Linked DNA regions of Homo sapiens: regions 2 and 3 are each linked to region 1. The links are contacts of gene promoters, found by promoter capture Hi-C in human tissues and cell types (Jung and others, 2019). All regions are on one chromosome and are shown on one strand. The core of a region is centred on a gene start or on the middle of the fragment in contact, and the rest is flanking DNA. Distances in the headings are between cores, read along the strand shown. Region 1 holds the start of COL2A1 (collagen type II alpha 1 chain). Region 2 overlaps SENP1 (SUMO specific peptidase 1). Region 3 holds the start of TMEM106C (transmembrane protein 106C).

Region 1 (4,165 bases), core at 761-3,260:
GGCTTTCCTAACTCCTATGTGTTAGAATTGTGCTAGGCACAGTTCTTGTCCCCAAGCATCTTCCAAGCTCATTGATGAGATAAAGACCAATGGATATAAGGGGAAAAAATTAAAACTACACAAAAACATATGTAGCTTAGGCTATAAATGCCAGGGGGATTCAGAAAGCCAGGGAGACGTTGTGTTCTAGAGATATCAGAGAAGGCTTCTCAGAGGGGCTTTAACCTAGGAGGTCTTGATAAATGTGTGGAATTTGGTCATTCTATCTTCCAGGTAGAGAATATAGGACCTTCTGAGCCCCAAAGAGGACATGGGGCACTGATGGCAAGAGACCAGCTTTCTTCTAGCAGAGATTGGGCCTGAGGAAGAGCCCAGAGCTTAATGCAAGCCCCTGAATGGGAGCATGGAGACTCAGACAAGGCCCGTGGAAGGTAGGGGAGATGCTGGAAACTGGTTGAATTCTTCCCCATCTCCATCCAGACTGGACAAAGCCTAGAAGCATTTCCTTCAACAATGAGTTCTTTCCCTTTCCAACCAGAGCACTTGGAACTCCAGCCTCTACCAGGACAAGTGTCAAAGCATGATAGGCTAGGGATGGGGTCCCAGGACCCCTGGTGGAAGCCTAAGGCCCAGAAGTAGCTTCTTTCAAGTGCTCTCAGCTTCTAGGGGGAAAGCTCCAGAGAAACAAAACTGCCCAGGAGGGCAGAAGTTCTGGTTAAGTCAGACCCCAAATTCTGAGTTTCATTTTGCCTATAGTTCTTTGGGGGACCATATCGCTCAAAAGGAAGGTCTGTTTGGGGACGTTTCCTCCCTGGTATGAAAGGAGGCACCGGAGACCAAGAGAAGAGACCAGCTAAGCCCTGGGAAGAAGGCAGTTTGGCTAAGGTGAGAGAGGGCGCTCACCGGGGAAGGTGAGGTGAGGCGGCAAGCGGAGGGCTAGGGGGCCGACTGGGAAATTCTGGCGCTTCTCCCCGGCTCACAGAACTCGCCAGCTGGATCGGCCTCCCCGATCCCTGGCCAGGGCCGCAGCAGTGACCAACCGTCCCTGGCCAAAGCTGCTCTACGACGGCCGGCAGTGCCCACTCCCCGGGGGACTCCCGGACCCCAGCCAGGAAGAGCAGACACCACGTCTGAGCCTGGAGCTAGACAGTCCCCCCACAGCAGGCAGCTTGCACCGTTTAGTCTCGGCTCCCTCCGTCCTCTGTGGCTCTTTCAGTCCCCTTCCCAGGGCCTGCCCCTGCCCCCCACACCTTCACACAGGTCTCCTTCTGTGCAGTAACACACCAGCTCTTTTCCTGGCTGTCGGCTCAGGCCAACTTCGGCCTGTGCTCCAGAGGAAGCCTTCAACGCAGAGCTGGATGGGGGAGGGGTGGAGGGCAGTCGCTGTGAACGTCCAGGTGGGAGTCTGGGGACCAGGTACTGCAGGGAAGGGCTAAAAGATAGGTCGGGGTAACCCTTCAGATCTGGCTCAGCTAGCCTGTCTCCAAGATTTAGGACTCTGAATCTCTGTGGGCTCCTCCCTGTCCCCACTCCCAAACGCCTGACGCGGTGCCCCCTCGCCCTCCGCTGCTCCTTTCTACCGCTTTCCCTCCTCCCTCCCATGTCTTTTCCGTCCTTGGTCTAGGGCTCTCGGCCTGCGCCTCTGCAAACACCCCCTCCCCTCCAACTCCGGCAGAACTCCGAGGGGAGGGGCCGGAGGCCACCCTTCCCGCCTGTGGTCAGAGGGGGGCAGCGCCGCAGCCCCGGGTTTGGGGGGCAGGGGCCATCTCTGCGCCCCGCCCGATCAGGCCACTCGGCGCACTAGGGGTGGAGGGCGGGAAGCGTGACTCCCAGAGAGGGGGGTCCGGCTTGGGCAGGTGCGGGCACTGGCAGGGCCCAGGCGGGCTCCGGGGGCGGGCGGTTCAGGTTACAGCCCAGCGGGGGGCAGGGGGCGGCCCGCGGTTTGGGCGAGTTCGCCAGCCTCGAAAGGGGCCGGGCGCATATAACGGGCGCCGCGGCGGGGAGAAGACGCAGAGCGCTGCTGGGCTGCCGGGTCTCCCGCTTCCCCCTCCTGCTCCAAGGGCCTCCTGCATGAGGGCGCGGTAGAGACCCGGACCCGCGCCGTGCTCCTGCCGTTTCGCTGCGCTCCGCCCGGGCCCGGCTCAGCCAGGCCCCGCGGTGAGCCATGATTCGCCTCGGGGCTCCCCAGACGCTGGTGCTGCTGACGCTGCTCGTCGCCGCTGTCCTTCGGTGTCAGGGCCAGGATGTCCGTAAGTCTTCCCCCGCCCCTGCCTGCCTGCCTGCTTTCCATGCGTCCCTCAGCATCCTTCTCCCCGGCCCGCTCCAGCTCTGGAGCCCGCGGCTCCGGGCTAAAACGGCTCCCGGGGTCGTAGCGCGCCGACTTAGGCACAGGACACGCAGAAGTTCACCAAGAAGAGTTCTGCCAATCAAGGACTCTGTCCCAGGGTCCTCGGTGCCCATCGCAGTTGCAAGTATTTGCAGGTCCCTACGTTGCGCTAGAATACTGAACTTGCAAAGTGTTGGCTCGGAGAAGTTTGCGCACAGATATAAATGGGCTCTTTTCCACCAGCTTTGATAATTAGGCGCACATGCACACAGCTCGCCTCTTCGAAGCACTTCGAGTTCAGCAAAAACAGATCTCAACTCATCGAACTTAGGTGAAGTAGGAAAGAGAGAGCGCGAGCGAGGGAGCAAGCAAACGCCAAAGGGTTGACTTCACAGCCTGTCCAAGGCTTGGTGGCTGGTGGGCTCAAAGCAGAGTTAGACAAAGGGGACTAACACTCTGACACTGGTGGGCTGAAATCCCAGGCCACAAAGAACGGCTTCCGATAGGCCCTCTGAGACCTCAGCGCCTCTTTAGGGTACCCTCCCCCTCCCAGCTGGCCCTGGAGCAAGGTGCAGCCCTAGCGCTCATCTCGACTTCCCTCCGTCCGCCTGCGCCTCTCTTCTGATAAAGGGTACAGAAACTTCCAGTAGGAGAGGCCATCTGAAAGACGATAACATTCCAACCAGACCGTGCTTTTCAAATGCCCCCGAAAATAGCGCCCCCTTCCCCGCGGTCTTACCCCATTCCCCGCCGCCCCGAGGTACTACAATGAGTTACTTTTCTAAATTCTGGAACTCACCGAGCCAGGCTGCGTGGTGTGTGTGTGTGTGCGTGTGTGTGTGTGTATGTGTGTGTCAGGGAAGGGGAGCAGGCTGGTCGATTGCTACGGTTGCTACAACTATTTCAACCGGTATAGTTAGAGATGGCTCTTGTAGTCGGGTCCAAATGCTGTTCGGACTGCACCTTTCTACCCCTCCTTTGGTAAGGTCCACTGTCTGGGATTATATTCAGGACAAACGAAGCCTGGAAAGTGTATTAGGTAGAGAGGATTTTTTTTTCCACGTGTTTGGGCACGTTTCCGACGGCTGGGATTCCAGCCCTGTCTTTGTATGTTACAGATTGTAAATCAATCGCAGAGGGAAACTCTTCGGCGGGGGGAATAAAAGTTCTCTGCCTTCGAGGCTCTGTGGGCCCTCTCCTGCCACCAGGCTGTTTCCAGGGATAGCGTGGAAGGCGGCGGGCTCAGGCGGGCTTTCCGGTCATTAGCGCAGCGGGGGCAGGGCTGGAGCCTGCGGCGCAGCTGCGAGGAGCCGGGAGCAGGAGACTCTGGCCGGGTCACCCGGTAGTGCGCTAAGCTGGAGGCGCGCTCCTGGGCATTTGAGGAATACAGCGTGACTATACGTGGCCTGGACTCAGACTGACTATATTTTTGTACTACATTTACAAGCACACGCCCACAAAGCTGTCTTCTTGACTGACCCCTGCCTTAGTGCGCAATGGAATTAGCTGGGTGGCTTTAAAATAATTCTCAAATTCTCCATCCGGTATTAGGGTCGCTTGCTTAATTAGGCGGTAGAGCTCTCTCATCGCCGCATCTTTCCTGGGAGGGAGTGATTCCACAGCTTCTCCGGCCCAAACCTTCCAGTCGCTCCTCCTCCCAGAGGGAGTGTGATTCTGCATCCGAGAGGCTGATTTTGCGCCCTGGAGCATCCCACCTTTTATAACTTCCCCCGCCTGGGGTCAGCGGACCCAAAGGTGTGACGTGGGGAAATGCGCAGTCTGCGTGGACGTCAGGAATGTCAGACACCTAGAGCTCGGCCACACCCCTCCTCTCCATCT
Region 2 (4,165 bases), core at 1,226-3,725, 46 kb before region 1:
CCTCAAACTCCCGAGCTAAAGTGATCCTCCTGCCTCAGCCTCCCAAGGAGCTGGGACCACAGGAATGTGCCACCATGCCTGGCTTTTTTGTTGGTTTTTAGTTTTTAGAGAGAAAGTCTCACTATATTGCCCAGCCTGGTCTCGAATTCCTGGCCTCAAGTGATCCTACCACCTTAGCCTCCTAAAGTGCTAGGATTACAGGCAGGAGCCCACACCCAGCTTTGTCTAGCATTCTAACTTTCAGAATATATATTTTTGATGGGAACGGGGGGAATTGGTAGTGGTCATAGTTTGATAATTTTTCCAAGGAGTAGTTAAATCTGAGTGATGCTCAGTAAAGAGAGGAAACAACCTGCAAAACATTAAGTTCAACCAGACAAACCTAGCCTTAGGAATAGGTTTTCCTTAGAGAATAAAAGCTGATTGCATAAGAAGGAAAAAAACTAGGCAAAATGAAATAAATTAGTTAAGTGACTATGATGAATCCACCATTGCTGTACACTTACGTGTAGAATAAAACGATCAGAACTAAAGTTTTCTAACGTGACTCTTTGGCTTCCACATTATTATGGTTTATCTCTTTGAAGTGTTTCTAAATAGAACTAGCCCTGATTAACCAGGGATTTATGCAAGGTCACATGGAGAATAGTAGTTATTCTCCATAAATGACTCCATAAACATGTTGCTTGCCTGTCTTTCTCTAAAAGTTTAGCTTTAATTCTGATAATTTGTTCCTTGAATTGGCATGTAAGAAAAATTCTGTGTGCATGTTTGCAGTGAGGGAAACCTGCCTTCCTGGTTTCTATAATATTACTAGGTTAGCTCCTGTGAGTGAATGACCTGAACCATACTATTCAAATGCTGCTGTTAGTCTCTTGGACTTTGTGGTTGATAAGGGTAAATTTAATTTGAAAATCAGAATGGGGAGGTCAAGGTGAAAATCTAGAGAGGTAAAATTGGAAAAATGGCTTTTGTCCCCCCAAAAGTTGTCTTGATCTCTGCTCAGAAGTATTGTCATGCCCAGGCCTTTTAGAACATTTTTTCTCAAGCTAATTAGAAGAGTTCAAACTATAAGCATGAGAATGGCTAAAAATCAAGACTTTACTGGTAGTGAAATGTTTTATTTCTAAAAACATGAGAAAACAATAGTTTGGCTGGTTTACTGGGGAAGAAGGAAGATACAAATAGCATTGGTCGTTTATGTCATTGTGGTAATGTACAGGAAAAAGATTGAATCCTTAGTTTGAAAACATTGTAGGCTTTTCTCTGAAAGAAAAGCTTTTTTCAGCTTCAGCCTGGCAGCTCTTCAAATAAAATCTCAAAGGAACAAGGCACTATAAACAACCCACCCATCCCTAAACATGACTGCATAGACAAGTAGATGCTTATGGCCAAGGCTGCAAAGGCAGCAGGAAGGGTAGCTCCTTAAGCACCAAGAGCCACAGTGAGCAAATAGAGGCAAGTGTGGGTCCCAGAAAAGGTGACAGGTGGACTAATGTTGACAGTTAGTCCTCAGATTGTGGTATATTGGTGAGACAAATAGCAAGCACAGGACTCATCTACTTTTAGCTCATTTCAAAGGGAATTTAGGATCTGCTGGTGCTAAGAGAGTCTTGTTTGAGGAAAGGGCTGTTGCCAACTTGGCGTCGGGGACAGTTGTCTTCACAAAAGTCAAGCAAATGCTGTGACCATCACTGCTCCTCTTTCATCTTGAACACTGTGATCCCTTCTCTCATTTCTTTTTCCTTCATCTTCAGCCCTCCTCTGTGAGATGACATGTAGGACTTTTTTGTTCTCTCTTAGCTCATTTTTTTGGTTTAATTGTGTCTTGGCTGAACTATGGCAATTTTCCTCATTTGGATGGTGTAATAGCTAAAAAAATTGAGGAGAAAGACTTGAATCCAGATTCTGCCTTGGATGTCAGATTTACATTCTCAGCTAATGTGGGGAGCATTGAGGTCACCAAACTCCCTTCTACTGGGATCTAGGGGAAATGAAAAAGAACCCAGATCATTCCTTAGAGCTAATTAACTAGTTGACTTTGGAGGCCATTTTCCTCTCAGTTGAGAAACTTTGGTTGGGTGCAGCAATGGAAGAGGAATTCTCAAAGGGAACAGATACCATGGTGTCTGATGACTGGGGTTCTCTGTTCTTGTTCAGCTGTGTTGGTCTTTAGCTTTCTAGTGAACCCTCTGAAGGTGAAAAAACAAGCAAAACTCAGGCTGTGTAAGTCCAGCTAAGCTTCCTTGGTTTCTGGAACTCTTTCCTCTTGAAAAATAGAATAGTGATGTATAGCATGACACTCATTTATGTCATTCTTTTTTTTTTTTTTCACTTCAGACTTACGATTCCAGAGGTAATCTCTGATAGGCACCTAGGGGAGATGTATTTCCATGGCTGTCATGTGCTTCACCGTCCTTATCTCTCTGCCTGATTCCTTTCACCTCCTGCTTCAGTCCTTATTTCTTGTTGGAATATATAAGCTGTCTGCCCCTATGGAAGGTTTCGCTTACAGTAACTGGCAGATCATCTGCTTATGTCTTGGATTGAAGGGTTTACCCTATAACATGGCCAACATTATAAGATGGGTAGAAGGCCAGAGGAATCAGTGAATTCCTTCTTGCCAATTTTTCCTCATTAGAGAACATAGTTTACAGCCTAGAAATCTGTACTTGCTGGGAAGATCCTACTGCATTTATGGCTGCCTTCGGAAACCTAGAGGCAGTCTTTAGCACCATTATCCTGAGGGGCAGAGTTAGACTGAAAACTTATAGTTAAGAAATACCTGATTCTAATTGTGTCTTGATTAATTATTATCTGTAACAACTGATCTCCAGTTATCTATTGGGCATCACACTAGGCAGAGAATAAGCCACAACCTGAGTCCTTTGGGCTGACTGGGCCTGTTGCTCAGTCATCAGCTGCAGAGAAAACAGTGTCTTTCTTCAGTCCTAGCCTTCCCCTACCTCAGAGCTCTGCCTCATGGCGAGTGTGGTTTTCCCGCAGCTGCCTAGGCATCCTCATCTATAGGCCCTTTCTCTGGTCTAGACCGTGCTCCGGTGTGTTCCTGGCAGTGTTCCCCTGCTGCCTACCCAGTATGTCGTTGCTTACTGTTGGGCAGTAGCTCACTGTTCTGGCATCCTGGTGTGTAAATATTTGTCAAAGAACAGGGGCATTTTCCCATTCCCCAAAAAGCATTCTGAAAAATGTGCCTGTTTTCTTAGTCATATTTCCAAGCCGTGGATCAGTTAGCCCATTCATTCCTTGCAGTTGACAGACACTGGCCTGACCTCAGCTGGCCACATAAAGTAAGTATGCAGTAACTTCCGGCACGATAACTTTCAAGTTTTAGTACCAAAGAGTCCTGGACCTAATGGAACCATACACAACATAGTCACTATTAGAGAAGATGTCGTTTCATTAACAAAGAATCACACATCTCCCCACTCAGCCATTGTAATTTCTTTCCACACTTAATATTGAAGGCATAAATGGAATCAACAAAGATGAGAAAGCTAACCATATAGATTCTGGGGTAGAACGTTATTCTTCATGTTTGTGACTTGACTTTAGGTCTCATATAAGGTAGGTTTTTATACTTCCATGTGTGCCTTTATATAAAGGTGACATTGCTGAGCTACTATCAGTTTACAGGTGTTTTTCCAGTATAATTAATGGCTTCTCCTGTCACTTAGTTCTACTTGAGACCAAAAGAGTTTGCCTCTGCAGGATGGGTTATTAAGTTGAAAAGGCAGTCTTTAACCATGGAGCAGAGTTTTCCATCTTTGTGTAAAACCATGTGGCTGTCATATAAAATTTGAGTTCTTGATTTTAACTTGACTAACACTAGGCGCTAACTGAGCTCAGTATCTACTTAAATTGCTCACACAGTTCCAGTAGATAAAGGTAACTGCTAATGTGCATTATTAAACTGCTTGCATGCCTTCCTCTCCTTTTCTGTAAGCCTCACCTTAACACCCCTGTCTTCCTGCAGTCTTTTGACCTAACCTTCAGTCTTCTACAAGCCTGGCCAGCGTCTGCCCATTTGTACTCCCAACCCCATAATATATATGTCAGCTTTTTCTCTTTTCACCATTTATAGCACTTCAGCCTTCCCCCTTCTAGTCAGAATTTGATTTAGAGAAATGAATCTGTTGGATGTTGA
Region 3 (4,165 bases), core at 1,203-3,702, 41 kb after region 1:
GTCCCAGCCTGGCAGGTGCACAACCCAGGGAATGAAACCCTAAGGCTTACCATGATGGTGAGAATTACAAGGGAGTCTTGCTTATTAAATGTGACTTTCACCACTTTGATGCCGTCATCATCCACAAGGACTGAATGCGGAAACAGGAAGAAAACCACCAAACCAGATGCCAGGAGACAAAGCAGGATGGACAGGAGGACATATTGCTTACTGCAAATGACACAGCACATGACCGACCCAGGCAGTCAGATATCAAGGTTCAATGTGTCAAGATTAAACACAAAACCAGGAAAGAGAAGGGAGCTGAAAGGGAAGTTCCAAGAGCCAGGAACCATAAACCAGTTAAGAAGCAGTGAAGCAGGAGAAACCTTTTAAAACTCCTTTAAACACTGTTTGCACTCTGGGAAGAAAAGCTGAAGAAAGGAGCTATGTGGACAGAGACAGTCCCACACCTCCCAGAACACTCCACTTTCCCAGTTTCTTCTGATTCCATTCCTTGACCTTCAAAGCATTTCCAGCTTCAAGTTTCTTTCCCCAGATTGTGATGGGGGCAGAGATATCTTGCTTGGGCAAACAGTTATAAGGAAAATGGGGAACTTATAAGAACATGTGTAGTTTTCAAAGAATTAACTGGCATTCATACATACAGAAAGAGATTAGGGACAGAAGTAGGTATTAACAGGTGAGAAGCAGGTAACTCACGTTCGCTGAGGGCGCAATCTCTGATCACTGTGTGGGATCAAAGCCACCAACTCATTTACTTGCTCTAGAAAAGAGCCAAACAATTATTTTGTAAATCCCATGTGTTGGCAGTACTTCCTTCACGTCTCACTTGAGCCTGCCACAACAAATATTCTTCTGGAATGAGACATTTTAAAAAATACTAGTGAAATTCACATGTTGGGTCTAATGAACAAGAAACAAGAGAGTGCCACAAATTATAAAACATCTATCAGTGCTGCCAGGGTAGTGATGTGGAAGTTGAAAAACCTGGGATCCTGTTCTGGCTTTACTGCATGGGCTTGGCAGAGTCGTCGAATCTCTCAAGGCCATGGTTTCCTTGCCTTTCATATGGAAGCTTTGGAGTAAATGATTTTGAAGGTCCTAACCAGCTCTAAATTTCTGTGACTCTCCAGCTAAACTGTTAAAGACTTTCTGAGGGCCAATTTGTTAATAGTAATAGATGATCCTGTACCAAGGCTAAGTATTTGTCTCTCTCTCTTGACCTGATATATTTTTCTGACCTTAGGCTGTTAAGGATTAGCTACCCATTTCCTTGAAAAGCAGCTTCCAAGATGGTTCCCCCGCAAAGCTGTCCCAATCCTTGTGACAGCGATAAAGAAATGTGCCTGTCAACAAATCCCACAACACAGAGCGAACTGAATGTTCCAAACCTCAGGAAAAGAACAAGAGTGGCGGTAAAGAAAAGAAAGGGTTGGAAAAATAAGGAGAGGAAGAGAAGTTGCAGAACTGCCCAAGTGTATTAAGTCAGTTGAGCTGGCTCCTGTCCAGGGCACTGTCTCTATTATGGTATTACTGCCTAGAAGAAAAGTTGTCTGGGCAGACAGGAGAACTCCGAGGGTACCTTGGGATTCTCATCAGGGAATCATCCCTCCATGATCACCTGTTGGAATGTAGCCTGTCCCCTGGCACGTGAGACAGGTGATGCTATCTCTCCCGGTGAATTCCACATATGGGAACTGAGCAATGGCTTCTTCCTGCTCTCGTTCAGCCAGCAAACCGTCCCTGTCATCTTCTTGCTTTCGCCTGCAGGAGGAGGGGCGAGCAGCAGCGGAATGCTGAGACCCCATGGCCGTGATATGCCACTGGTGTCATGTCCTAAGATGAAAAGAGGGAGTGCACGTTAGCGGCCCCAGTGAATCACGACAGAAATCGCTTGTTTCTATAAGAAAATTAAAAACGCAAAAATGACAAGTTGCCGCCCTGAGTGTGGTCCCAACACCTGTACGATTTCTATCGGGACCCTCATTTTGTAGTAGTGCTACCCACTCTCCTCTTACCCGCCACACACAGCCGGCGGGGGTGGGGAGGGGGAACGGGGCCTGCCTTTCACGCACCTGCCTCGATCCTCACCGCCCTGGGACTTGGGGCACCCCCGCTCCCACCTGGTCCAGCCTCGCCCCTTCCTCTTCACTATTTGTAAGCTCTATGCCCCTCCTCGAGCAACAAACAGGCACCAAATTGATAACCGGCCTTAACGATTCCCATTCCTCTCCACCCCCCAGCCCCAGGAGGCGGGCTCAGGTCACGCCCCTTGGCAAAAAGCGATGCTCTGAGCCCACCAAAGTGGCCCAGGCAGGAGCGAACGCCAGCGTCGCAGACCTGCAGGGCACGAACTCCCGGCAGCTCCTCTCCGGCCGCTCCCCCGACCACCTGCCAGCTTGAGGACTTACCAGCCTCTTCGGTCGGCGGAGCGGCACGCACTCAGCGCGCAGGCGCCAAATACCAAGCCCGCCAGGAGAACGCGGGCGCGCGCTCGCGCGTGCGCTCTTCGCGGCTCCGGAGGCCTTCCCAATATCGCAGCTGTCTGGCTCCCTCGGTTCCGGTAGAGGGCGGCAGAGAGCGCCGGGGAGCCGCGACCCTTGCTGTTGGGCCGCGGTAGTCCGCGGAGTCGGGATGATGCTCTGCTGTTCGCTAGATAGGCTGGGAAAGGCTCCAGTCAAGTTTCCAGAGCAAAACACTTCTCTGCTGCGAGAGGAGGAAGGTGCTGCCGGCTACCGAAGCCATTCTGAAATATTCTTTATAGTACAGGAGCTGTGTAGTCGCTGAGGGTACACACATGCGGAGCATTCGGATAAACTGCCTTTGCAAAAATTGTAAGTGAGAAAATTATGACAGTGAAAGAGATCTGACTTACCCAGTTCCGTCTTGCTTCTAACCTCCGAACTGCCCTTGTTCATTCCTGGGTATAGGCCAAACTAACTTTGGGAGGAATTTAGTTTATAGTTGAACTTCGAAGCAAAGATAACAGCCCTTCCCCAAAACAAACCCCCTTCTTGCCTGGGGACCAGACTGCCTTTGTAAGACTAACAAATTAGCCACAAGATTAGAAATTATGGTTTAGGAGTCATCCAGACAGAGGTCACAAGATTCCAAACCTTCCCTATTGCTCCAAGGGATAACATCACTATTGTAAAATCTAAGATCGGTGCTGGGGATATTTTTCAGACCCTGCATTCTGAGGCACCAGCTGGCAGTACCTAGACCAGTTATCTGGCTCAGCCAGTTCTGCAATCCCACCCAGGAACAGAAAACAGCAAGAAGAACCCACTTAGACCCCCCTATGATTTCATCTCCAACCTGACCAATCAGCACTCCCCACTGCCTGATACCTACCAGCCGAATTATCCTTAAAAAACCCCAGTCTCTGAATTATCGGGGAGACTTATTTGAGTGATAAAACTCTGGTATCTCATTCAGCCGGCTCTGCATGAATTAAAATCTCCATTGCAATTCCCCTGTCTTGATGAATCAGCTCTGGGCAACGGGCAAGGAGAACCCGTCCGGCAATTATATCAGAACCTGTCTTCAGTCCAGGAGGGGAACCCAGAGGCTTCATCAGACCCCTCCAATACTGTAGATAAAAGTGCTGCTGGAAGTCTCACAAGTCAGAGGGGCCCAGCCTGGGGGAAACCTTCCATGGGGAGTCCTGCTGGCTTCTCGCAGGAACGGACCCCACAGCTGAGCTTTGCAAGCCAATTAGGTGCCAAGAGGCACCAAGGAGTAGATTCATTCGGTAGTAGGGCCCCCCCTTCCCCAGACCTCCACAAAAAAGGCACGTACGTAAGAGGTTAGAAAGCACTTTTCGTTCGTTTGTTTGTTTGTTCGTTTGTTTTGAGATGGAGTCTTGCTCTGTCGACCAGGCTGGAGTACAGTGGCACAGTCTCAGCTCACTGCAACCTCCGCCTCCCGGGTTCAAGCGATTCTCCTGCCTCAGCCTCACAAGTAGCTGGGATTACAGGCGCACACCTCCACACCTGGCTAATTTTTGTATTTTTAGTGGAGACCGGGTCTCACCATGTTGACCAGGCTGGCCTCAAACCCCTGACCTCAGGTGATCTGCCCACCTTGGCCTCTCAAAGTGCTGGGATTACAGGCGTGAGCCACTGTGCCCGGCCTAGAGGGTACTTTTTAATGGGTGGGT

The links. The method cuts DNA at HindIII sites, captures the fragments that hold promoters and counts their contacts. A contact is called where the count stands out against the background at its distance.
Region 2: a contact is called between a fragment that was not itself captured here and the fragment with the promoter of COL2A1 in region 1, in 1 of the 25 tissues and cell types used here (pancreas).
Region 3: a contact is called between the fragment with the promoter of TMEM106C here and the fragment with the promoter of COL2A1 in region 1, in 1 of the 25 tissues and cell types used here (pancreas).

The regions. Positions count from the first base shown.
Region 1 is chr12:48,002,321-48,006,485 of GRCh38, reverse strand. It overlaps COL2A1 (collagen type II alpha 1 chain), which reads left to right and starts at 2,010. Exons shown (of 54, transcript NM_001844.5): 1 at 2,010-2,249. The coding sequence starts at 2,165. The HindIII fragment of the contact is 28,746 bases long and covers 1-4,165 here.
Region 2 is chr12:48,049,250-48,053,414 of GRCh38, reverse strand. The region is part of intron 13 of SENP1 (SUMO specific peptidase 1); the gene reads left to right. Among named protein-coding and RNA genes, the nearest start is that of COL2A1, 47 kb to the right of the region's middle. The HindIII fragment of the contact is 3,952 bases long and covers 500-4,165 here.
Region 3 is chr12:47,961,883-47,966,047 of GRCh38, reverse strand. TMEM106C (transmembrane protein 106C) reads right to left here and starts at 2,452. Exons shown (of 8, transcript NM_001143842.2): 1 at 2,344-2,452; 2 at 1,625-1,839; 3 at 703-766; 4 at 51-210. The coding sequence starts at 1,811. The HindIII fragment of the contact is 8,708 bases long and covers 1-4,165 here.